Regions from separate parts of the Homo sapiens genome. Here regions 1 and 2 are each linked to region 3. The links are contacts of gene promoters, found by promoter capture Hi-C in blood cells and fetal thymus (Javierre and others, 2016). All regions are on one chromosome and are shown on one strand. Each heading gives the region's core, a stretch centred on a gene start or on the middle of the fragment in contact. The rest is flanking DNA. Distances are from core to core; before and after follow the strand shown.

Region 1 (2,700 bases), core at 181-2,680, 160 kb before region 3:
GATGTTAATTAACTGGCGCAACATTGCACAGAGCTATGAAGAGGTAAAGCTAAAATTCAAAGCCACCTCTATCAGGCTTCATTAACAGTATACTTTTCATGCTCAGATACATAACTTAACATGCAAATTTCTGCCAGCAAGTGTGCCTGTCTATCAATCTAATGATTTATCTACATTTTTCCTAATACATTGAATTTAATGCAAAAAATAAAAATGGGAATTGGTGTCAACTGCATGGTAAAAGAAGTTTCGACTTACATATGGTATCTCAGCTAAACGATTTCGGCTTACAACTTCTTTCAATTTATTGATGCCACCATAGTCCCTGCGACTAAGCTGGAACCCAAGACTCCAATAGGGAGGGAAGAATGGCCGTCCAACAAGCTGAAAAGATAAGTAAGTGTGTAGGCTTTGAGAATAACATTAGCCCCATTTCATTTTCTGTGAAGTTCCCAGAGCTGAAAACGTCAGAGCTAAGAGTAATCTGCTAGAATAATTTGTGAAATTCCACAATCACATCCTTCTTTACTAAGTACATAAATGTATTCCCAACATCAGATCAGACACTAATAAAATTTGCAGAAAATGTTTCAGTAATGGTGTCATCTTAGGGGAAACTGGTGACATTCATTATTCTATAAGTGTTTTTCTGAATATTTGTTCACAGTGTGGCAAGGGCTAATATGGGCACTTGGAATATAGTGGCACAGAGCAAACATAGCTCCTGCCCTCAGAGAGCTTAGAGGAAATAAATAAATGCCTAATATAATTTCAGATAGTGGTGTGTGCAAAGGGTAAAGGAATAAGAATGGATGGGATTAGGAGTGAGATTACAGGCACACGCCACCATGCCCAGCTAATTTTTGTATTTTTAGTAGAGACAGGGCTCTGCCATGTTGGCCAGGCTGGTCTCAACCTCCTGACCTCAAGTGATTCGCCCACCTTGGCCTCCCAAAGTGGTGGAATTACAAGCATGAGCCACTGCAGCCAACCTCAAGCGTCTTCCTTTTCTATAATTTGAGTCAAATGTGAATAGCTAGCAAAGTTTATTCAGGTAGTTCCTTTTCACTGAATTTTAACTTATTGAATGAATAAGCTTTGCTGATTTGTGGGATACATGAATGGACTATGAGTTACTTGAAAGCAGGATGGTGTCTGACTTCTTTTTGCATTTCTCAAGCCTTGCACAGTGTCTCTTTGGAATGCAGAAAGCACCCAATAAAGGTCATCAAAATAAATAAACAATAGATGAAAGACTCACTATCCCAGCATTTATAATCCATACAGTTTACTAATACCTTTTATTTTTCTTTTATTAATTTATAATGAGTATATGAGATAACAGCAGTAAATAATGACTATCTAAATGCAAAGACATACCTCCAAGTATTCCTGAACCACTTGTTCTGGAGTGTTTCCTAGGAATACGTAAAAGTCAAGAATGCCTCCAATCGTGCGATAAGTGATCGCAGGAGCTGGCTGAAGGGTAACCTCTGAAAAAATTATAATGAGATTAATTAGAATCTTATGGTTGGAAGTAAACTCTTCTCTGCAGTAGAAATAGTTGAGCCACCTAAAAGAGTCTCAGTCTCATTTTGAAAGGGATGAAAATCACACTGTCTTTTTATCAGAGGATCGTTGTTGGAGTTTATCAAAGTATTGAATGTGTAAGACACCAATGAAGAATTGAGTTTTGTTTTTTTTTTTTTAAGATAAAGAAGAACAAATTGTATTTTAACCTGGCCACATAAAAATACAAGCTTCTGGGTTTTGCGAGTAGCTTCACTCAAAAAACGTTATAAAAATTTTATTAGATGAGTTTGACTACAATTAAATATTTAAAAATAAATAAAAATGCTTATGAGAGTACCATTAATCCAGAAGCTGGAGAAGGAAGATTTGGAGTGGGGAAAGTGTGGGTGGGCTGTGAGAAACAGCCTACAAAACACAGCCTTGTTGCCTACAGACAGAAAGCACAATTTACACGTTGAAATCTACAGATATTTTTGGAATGCGTCTATCAGTGGATCCTATTTTCTACAGACTATGAGGGGAAACATTATACCAAAGAAGACCCCTGAAGTGGTTTTCAATGAAAACAATGTCAAGTATCACCTGGATTTGTAGACAGATTAACCTACTTTCAGGTTCCAGTTTCAATAAAAGTATTGTAGGTTCAAAATGCCTTCTGTTCAACAGTTGATCTCACCATAAAAGTAATTTTTTATAAAAGCAGAATCCTAAAACGTATTCCTACCTACAGAAGATAAAAAGATGCTTCCTACCCATGGCATTACTGTTCATCAGAAATACTCCAAAAGAGGAGCCCCTGGCATCTTCAAGGCACAAGAAGAATGTATGAGCTCCATACAGATTAATCATGCCCTATCAGCAAAACAGAAGAAAAGTCATAGTGTTATGTGTTGAGAAAGTTTTCATTCACCCTAAAATAAATTCAAAAGCCATCTATAACATATACTTGGTCAACACTTCATGTAGTTTAACATTGTATCAAAAAGGCATTGTAATGATATTATCAACTGGAAAATGAATAAACAAAATATGGTATTATCTATACAAAAGAATTCCATTCAACAACAGTAAAATAATCATACACACTGCAATATAAATAAACCTTGAAAGTGTTATGCTAAGGGAAAGAAACAGACACAAACAACCATATATTGTATGATTTCATTG
Region 2 (2,900 bases), core at 374-2,873, 180 kb after region 3:
AAAGCCAAGGCTAGGGCTCAAAGAAACTTCCAGAAATATAAAGATGTTTTGTTTTGTTTTTCAGTTAGATAATTAGATACATTACAGCAGAGAAATGGGGAAATTATTTGATACTTTTTAAAAAGCATATCTAAAATGACTAACATTAATGTATAGGTAAAATTTCATAAAAATTAATGATCACTATAATTGTTCCTAATCTCTGTTTTCTATACTAGGAAAAACACAATTTATATATGAATTTTTGCTATATGTAGACAGAATTGTTCCTAATCTCTGCTTTTTATAATAGGAAAAACACGATTTATATATGAATTATTTGCTATATGTAGAGAGAATATAATACCTCTTTTACCAAACATGAAGCCCTAGCCTTGATTTCTGTGGTACATTAAAAAAATATACTTTGCATTGCCAAAAGAGACATAGTATTGGGTTTTGATCCGTATTTTCTGTTGCTCATTCATTACATTGGTGTAAAAGAAGGAAAATCTTAAAAGACATGGAAAGCAGCTCCCTTATAGAGAGCTATCAAAAGAGCGTCCCAAGAGTGTCCTGACCACACTTTTCTTCCCAGATCATGGGCCCCAGCATCTCCGAGCACACACTGTCTTCCACAGGATCTTCTGACAAGTCTGCTTCACCCTAGGAATCCCCATGATCAATATGAGAGAATGAAGAGAAGGATAGGCTGCCATGAGTGTCTCCCAGATGAAGACACTGGTGAGATCAGGAGGATAAGTCTTGGAGGTGATGGAGAAGGGGCTGGCCATGATATAAACCAGGTGAAGTAAGAGGAAGCAGCCCAAGGACTTCAGCGCAGTGATGTGAGCCTTGGCCCGGACATCCCTCCTACCAGCTGAATGGACCTTCATCTTCTTGTGGTGTGTATACAAAGAGACAATCAGCATCCCAGAGGAAACAAGAAACACCACTAAAGGCAAATAACTTCCTGAATTGAGCTGAAATGCATACAGGTACTGCCAGCTTTCAAAGGGATACCGAATGCTGCTGTTTCCTTGGGGAGGATGATAGAATGTTAAGCCAATTTGGACTGTAAGTAACAAATTGATTATAAAGTAGCCCAGAAGGCACCAGAGACTCAGGTTATAGGCCCTCTGCTTCAGCCACAAGTAGGCCGGGCGATCGAAGGTCGTGATCTTCTTGCAATAGAAGACACTGAGGAAGGTGGCAAACCATAAGCTGGCCTGGCTTACCAGGACCCAGAAGATACTAAGATAGCGAAGCCAACGGCTGCTCTGGAAAAGTGGAAACAAGCTTAAGTCCAAAATGATCAGCCACTGCAGGAGAAATCGGCAGCCAGCCAGGCCCAGGATAATGAGGTTATATGAGGACCAGTTGAATTTTCTGATCCATTCTCTAAAACTCCAGACCACCAGGCTTCCATTTCCAATTAAACCGATGAGAAATTCAACCACTGCCACCAGCATCAGCAGTCCTAGGCCAGCGCTCAGCATGGCTGGGGAGAGGAGGCTCTCACTGCTCCTGGCTGAGGTCAGATCCCCTGGTAGTGATAACACACCAGGGTAAATTTTCACACCACAAAATCTGGATTTGGCCTCGTCCTTCCGTAATCTGTCTTCAAGCGAGACTGAACAGCTGTGATGAGGAACAGAGAGGTTGGAAGTTATGATACCATCTGTATTTGCATCTACATGAATGAACCCTGAGTGTAGAACCAGAGATTGCAAACAGTACCACAGACACCGGCTCTCCATCTCAAAGGTTTTGGGCCAAAGTCTAGACACCAGGGTATAACGTAACAAGGCCCCTCAACAAGAAAGACCAAATCAAAACATGCTCAGGTGCTATACAGTGCCAGTTATGAGCTCATATGCTATATAAAAAAAGAAATTTTATTTTCATGAAAAGAACACTGGGCCAGGCATGGTGGCTCACACCTGTAATCCCAACACTTTGAGAGGCCAAGGCGGGTGGATCACCTGAAGCCAGGAGTTCGAGACCACCCTGGCCAACATGGTGAAGCCCCATCTCTACTAAAAATACAAAAATTATCTGGGCGTGGTGGTGGCTGCCTGTAGTCCCAGCTACTCGGGAGGCTGAGGCAGGAGAACCACTTGAACCCAGGAGATGGAAGCTGCAGTGGGCCAAGATCGCGCCACTGCACTCCAGCCTGGGCGACAGAGCAAGACTCCATCTCAAAAAAAAAAAGTAAGCATGCTGAGAACTCTCTACGAAGCTGTAGGCAGGCAGGCCACTGCCCGTCTCTGGGCCTCAGTTGCTCTATTAATAACTGAATGGATTGTAGGATGAGATTTCCATTCCTTCGGACTAAATTTACAAAGTGCTTATTTTGTGTCAAACTACGGTGTACTAGGCACAGGGGACGGCGCCATTATAATACACAGTCCCTGCCTCCAGGTAGCATCCATTGTACATCATCTCCACCAAGCTGCAAGGCCTGGTACTCTAAAACTCTGGCTGTAGGCTATGGAGGGGCAGAGGTGGTCGCGATCTTCTACTGGACTAAAAATCTAGATGAGGCTTGAACTCGTCCAAAAACAGTGTTTCTTCAGTGACTTTCTGATAGAGACATAGTGCCTCTCTCTCCCCACCTGCCCCAATCTAGCCTGGCAGTGGAATTTGCCACCGATCCTGGTAGCCAACTGACACGTTTCCAGAAAGCTAGTCTGGCATCAAAAAAACCAAAGTATCCAGAAATATAAAGGTAGGTTTTTGACTACTTTACTACCGGTGTTGAGAGGCTAAACTACATAGAAAATTGAGATAATAATTTAGCTAATTCCCCTAAGAAAAGTGCTTGCCTAAAAAATATACAGGCTCACCTCTTTTTAAAATATATTATTTTCAAACTATAGCTATTTTCTACTTCCTTTTATCAAAAACATAGCATATTG
Region 3 (2,700 bases), core at 26-2,525:
GCAACACCGCCACCTGGTGTGGTGAAGACAAGGAGAAAATTAGCTTAAGTTGAAAGTGCAGAATTCTGTGTTTGACACTCTGTAAGCATGAATGACCCAAATGAAGTGGTCACAAACACAATTAATTAAATACAACTGCTACATCATGATGCACAAATAAGGACTACATAAATATCTGCGTATGAACAGTTCAGAATAAAACAAAAGTGAACATCTTTAGTAATCACTGACTTATGTCACTACTAATAATAAAAAAGGAGCTTTAGTCAAAAGAAAACATAAAAAATACAAAGAGAAAGTATCGAAAAACACCAATGGGGCAGCACCAATAACTCTTAAAGGATTTATCGGGGGAAATTCACTCATAAGTGGCAGTTGAACAATGAGAACACATGGACACAGGGAGGGGAACATCAAACACCAGGGCCTGTCAGGGGGTAGGGGGCAAGGGGAAGGAGACCATTAGGAGAAATACCTAATATAGATAACGGGTTGATGGGTGCAGCGAACCACCATGGCAGGTGTATGCCTATGTAACAAGCCTGCATGTTCTGCACATGTACCCCAGAACTTATACTAATTAAAAAATAAACATAATAATAATCCAAACCAGCTATGCCCCCTTTCCTCTCCCTTCATGACAGCGTGCTAGTCTTGTTCATGTTAATATTCTCCTTGCCAGGCACAGTGCCTGGCATAATAATGATGATTGCATGAAACCTTTGGCAACAGCAAATAAAACTGCAATCATACACTGACACATGGAAAGGAACCATGCATTTATCTATATTAAAAACACAGTCTGTGATAAGAGTCATTACTTCACAGATGAGAGAAGGAATGCAAATGAAAAGAGACTCTATTTCAAACCTTAGATCACCAAGAATATCTGCTTTGCCTGCTGCAGGGTGCCTCAAAACCCATAAGCAAATCCTGTTCTCTTCGCCACCCCCACAGGTCCAGATGGGCATGCAAAACTGGATTGGGGAAATTGAGGCCCTGTTTTGTTTGCATCCGTGATGCTGTGCTATGGCCTTCTGGGAAGGCGGTTGTACAGGAACACCTGGATTTATTAATCTTGCATCACCCAAGAGGTAGAACCATCAGTCTTCCACCCTATGATAAGCTCTTACGTGTATCCAAGAGATGTTCTAGAGAAACAACATCCCTCTAAGTTTCCTGCCAGAACTTTTTATGCGCTCGCTTTGGGATAGATCTAGGCAAAGAGCTGGATGCTTTGTGAAGGAAAGGTCCTGGCTTGGAACGTACATTTACCTTTCTGCACTGGGTGGCAACCAGGTCTTTAGATTAGCCAACTAGAGAAGAGAAGTAGAATAGCCAATTAGAGAAGTGACATCATGTTGACTCTAACTCGCATCCGCACTGTGTCCTATGAAGTCAGGAGTACATTTCTGTTCATTTCAGTCCTGGAGTTTGCAGTGGGGTTTCTGACCAATGCCTTCGTTTTCTTGGTGAATTTTTGGGATGTAGTGAAGAGGCAGGCACTGAGCAACAGTGATTGTGTGCTGCTGTGTCTCAGCATCAGCCGGCTTTTCCTGCATGGACTGCTGTTCCTGAGTGCTATCCAGCTTACCCACTTCCAGAAGTTGAGTGAACCACTGAACCACAGCTACCAAGCCATCATCATGCTATGGATGATTGCAAACCAAGCCAACCTCTGGCTTGCTGCCTGCCTCAGCCTGCTTTACTGCTCCAAGCTCATCCGTTTCTCTCACACCTTCCTGATCTGCTTGGCAAGCTGGGTCTCCAGGAAGATCTCCCAGATGCTCCTGGGTATTATTCTTTGCTCCTGCATCTGCACTGTCCTCTGTGTTTGGTGCTTTTTTAGCAGACCTCACTTCACAGTCACAACTGTGCTATTCATGAATAACAATACAAGGCTCAACTGGCAGATTAAAGATCTCAATTTATTTTATTCCTTTCTCTTCTGCTATCTGTGGTCTGTGCCTCCTTTCCTATTGTTTCTGGTTTCTTCTGGGATGCTGACTGTCTCCCTGGGAAGGCACATGAGGACAATGAAGGTCTATACCAGAAACTCTCGTGACCCCAGCCTGGAGGCCCACATTAAAGCCCTCAAGTCTCTTGTCTCCTTTTTCTGCTTCTTTGTGATATCATCCTGTGCTGCCTTCATCTCTGTGCCCCTACTGATTCTGTGGCGCGACAAAATAGGGGTGATGGTTTGTGTTGGGATAATGGCAGCTTGTCCCTCTGGGCATGCAGCCATCCTGATCTCAGGCAATGCCAAGTTGAGGAGAGCTGTGATGACCATTCTGCTCTGGGCTCAGAGCAGCCTGAAGGTAAGAGCCGACCACAAGGCAGATTCCCGGACACTGTGCTGAGAATGGACATGAAATGAGCTCTTCATTAATACGCCTGTGAGTCTTCATAAATATGCCTCTGATTCTTCAGGAATACAACTCTGATTCCTCACAAAGCCTTCCAATTTCTTCTATAAAACACAATTGAAAGTCTCTCCACTTTGTATCAATGAACTCACTTATAGATGAATAAAATAATTAAGCACTATACATGGCCTAGGCAAGAATAATGTTGGTACCCTAGGTTTGTTTTGATAAAATGAACAAAATAATTAAGTATTTGGTGTAAATCCTTTATATACTATAGCTTATTATTGGTATAAATCAAACCATGAGAAATCATCTCTTCTGAAATAATATC

What was found. The method cuts DNA at HindIII sites, captures the fragments that hold promoters and counts their contacts. A CHiCAGO score of 5 or more calls a contact.
Region 1: a fragment that was not itself captured here is called in contact with the fragment with the promoter of TAS2R38 in region 3 in 1 of 17 cell types (megakaryocytes); the score reaches 5.6 in megakaryocytes.
Region 2: a contact is called between the fragment with the promoter of TAS2R5 here and the fragment with the promoter of TAS2R38 in region 3, in 4 of 17 cell types (monocytes, M0 macrophages, M1 macrophages and 1 more). The highest score is 6.3, in monocytes.

What each region holds. Positions count from the first base shown.
Region 1 is chr7:142,136,226-142,138,925 of GRCh38, reverse strand. MGAM2 (maltase-glucoamylase 2 (putative)) reads right to left here. Exons shown (of 48, transcript NM_001293626.2): 8 at 2,286-2,385; 9 at 1,381-1,493; 10 at 259-384. Among named protein-coding and RNA genes, the nearest start is that of MGAM2, 26 kb to the right of the region's middle. The HindIII fragment of the contact is 664 bases long and covers 1,099-1,762 here.
Region 2 is chr7:141,788,940-141,791,839 of GRCh38, reverse strand. It overlaps TAS2R5 (taste 2 receptor member 5), which reads right to left and starts at 1,623. Exons shown (of 1, transcript NM_018980.3): 1 at 473-1,623. The coding sequence starts at 1,478. The coding sequence ends at 579. The HindIII fragment of the contact is 7,447 bases long and covers 1,281-2,900 here.
Region 3 is chr7:141,972,348-141,975,047 of GRCh38, reverse strand. It overlaps TAS2R38 (taste 2 receptor member 38), which reads left to right and starts at 1,275. Exons shown (of 1, transcript NM_176817.5): 1 at 1,275-2,417. The coding sequence starts at 1,359. The coding sequence ends at 2,360. The HindIII fragment of the contact is 7,298 bases long and covers 1-2,700 here.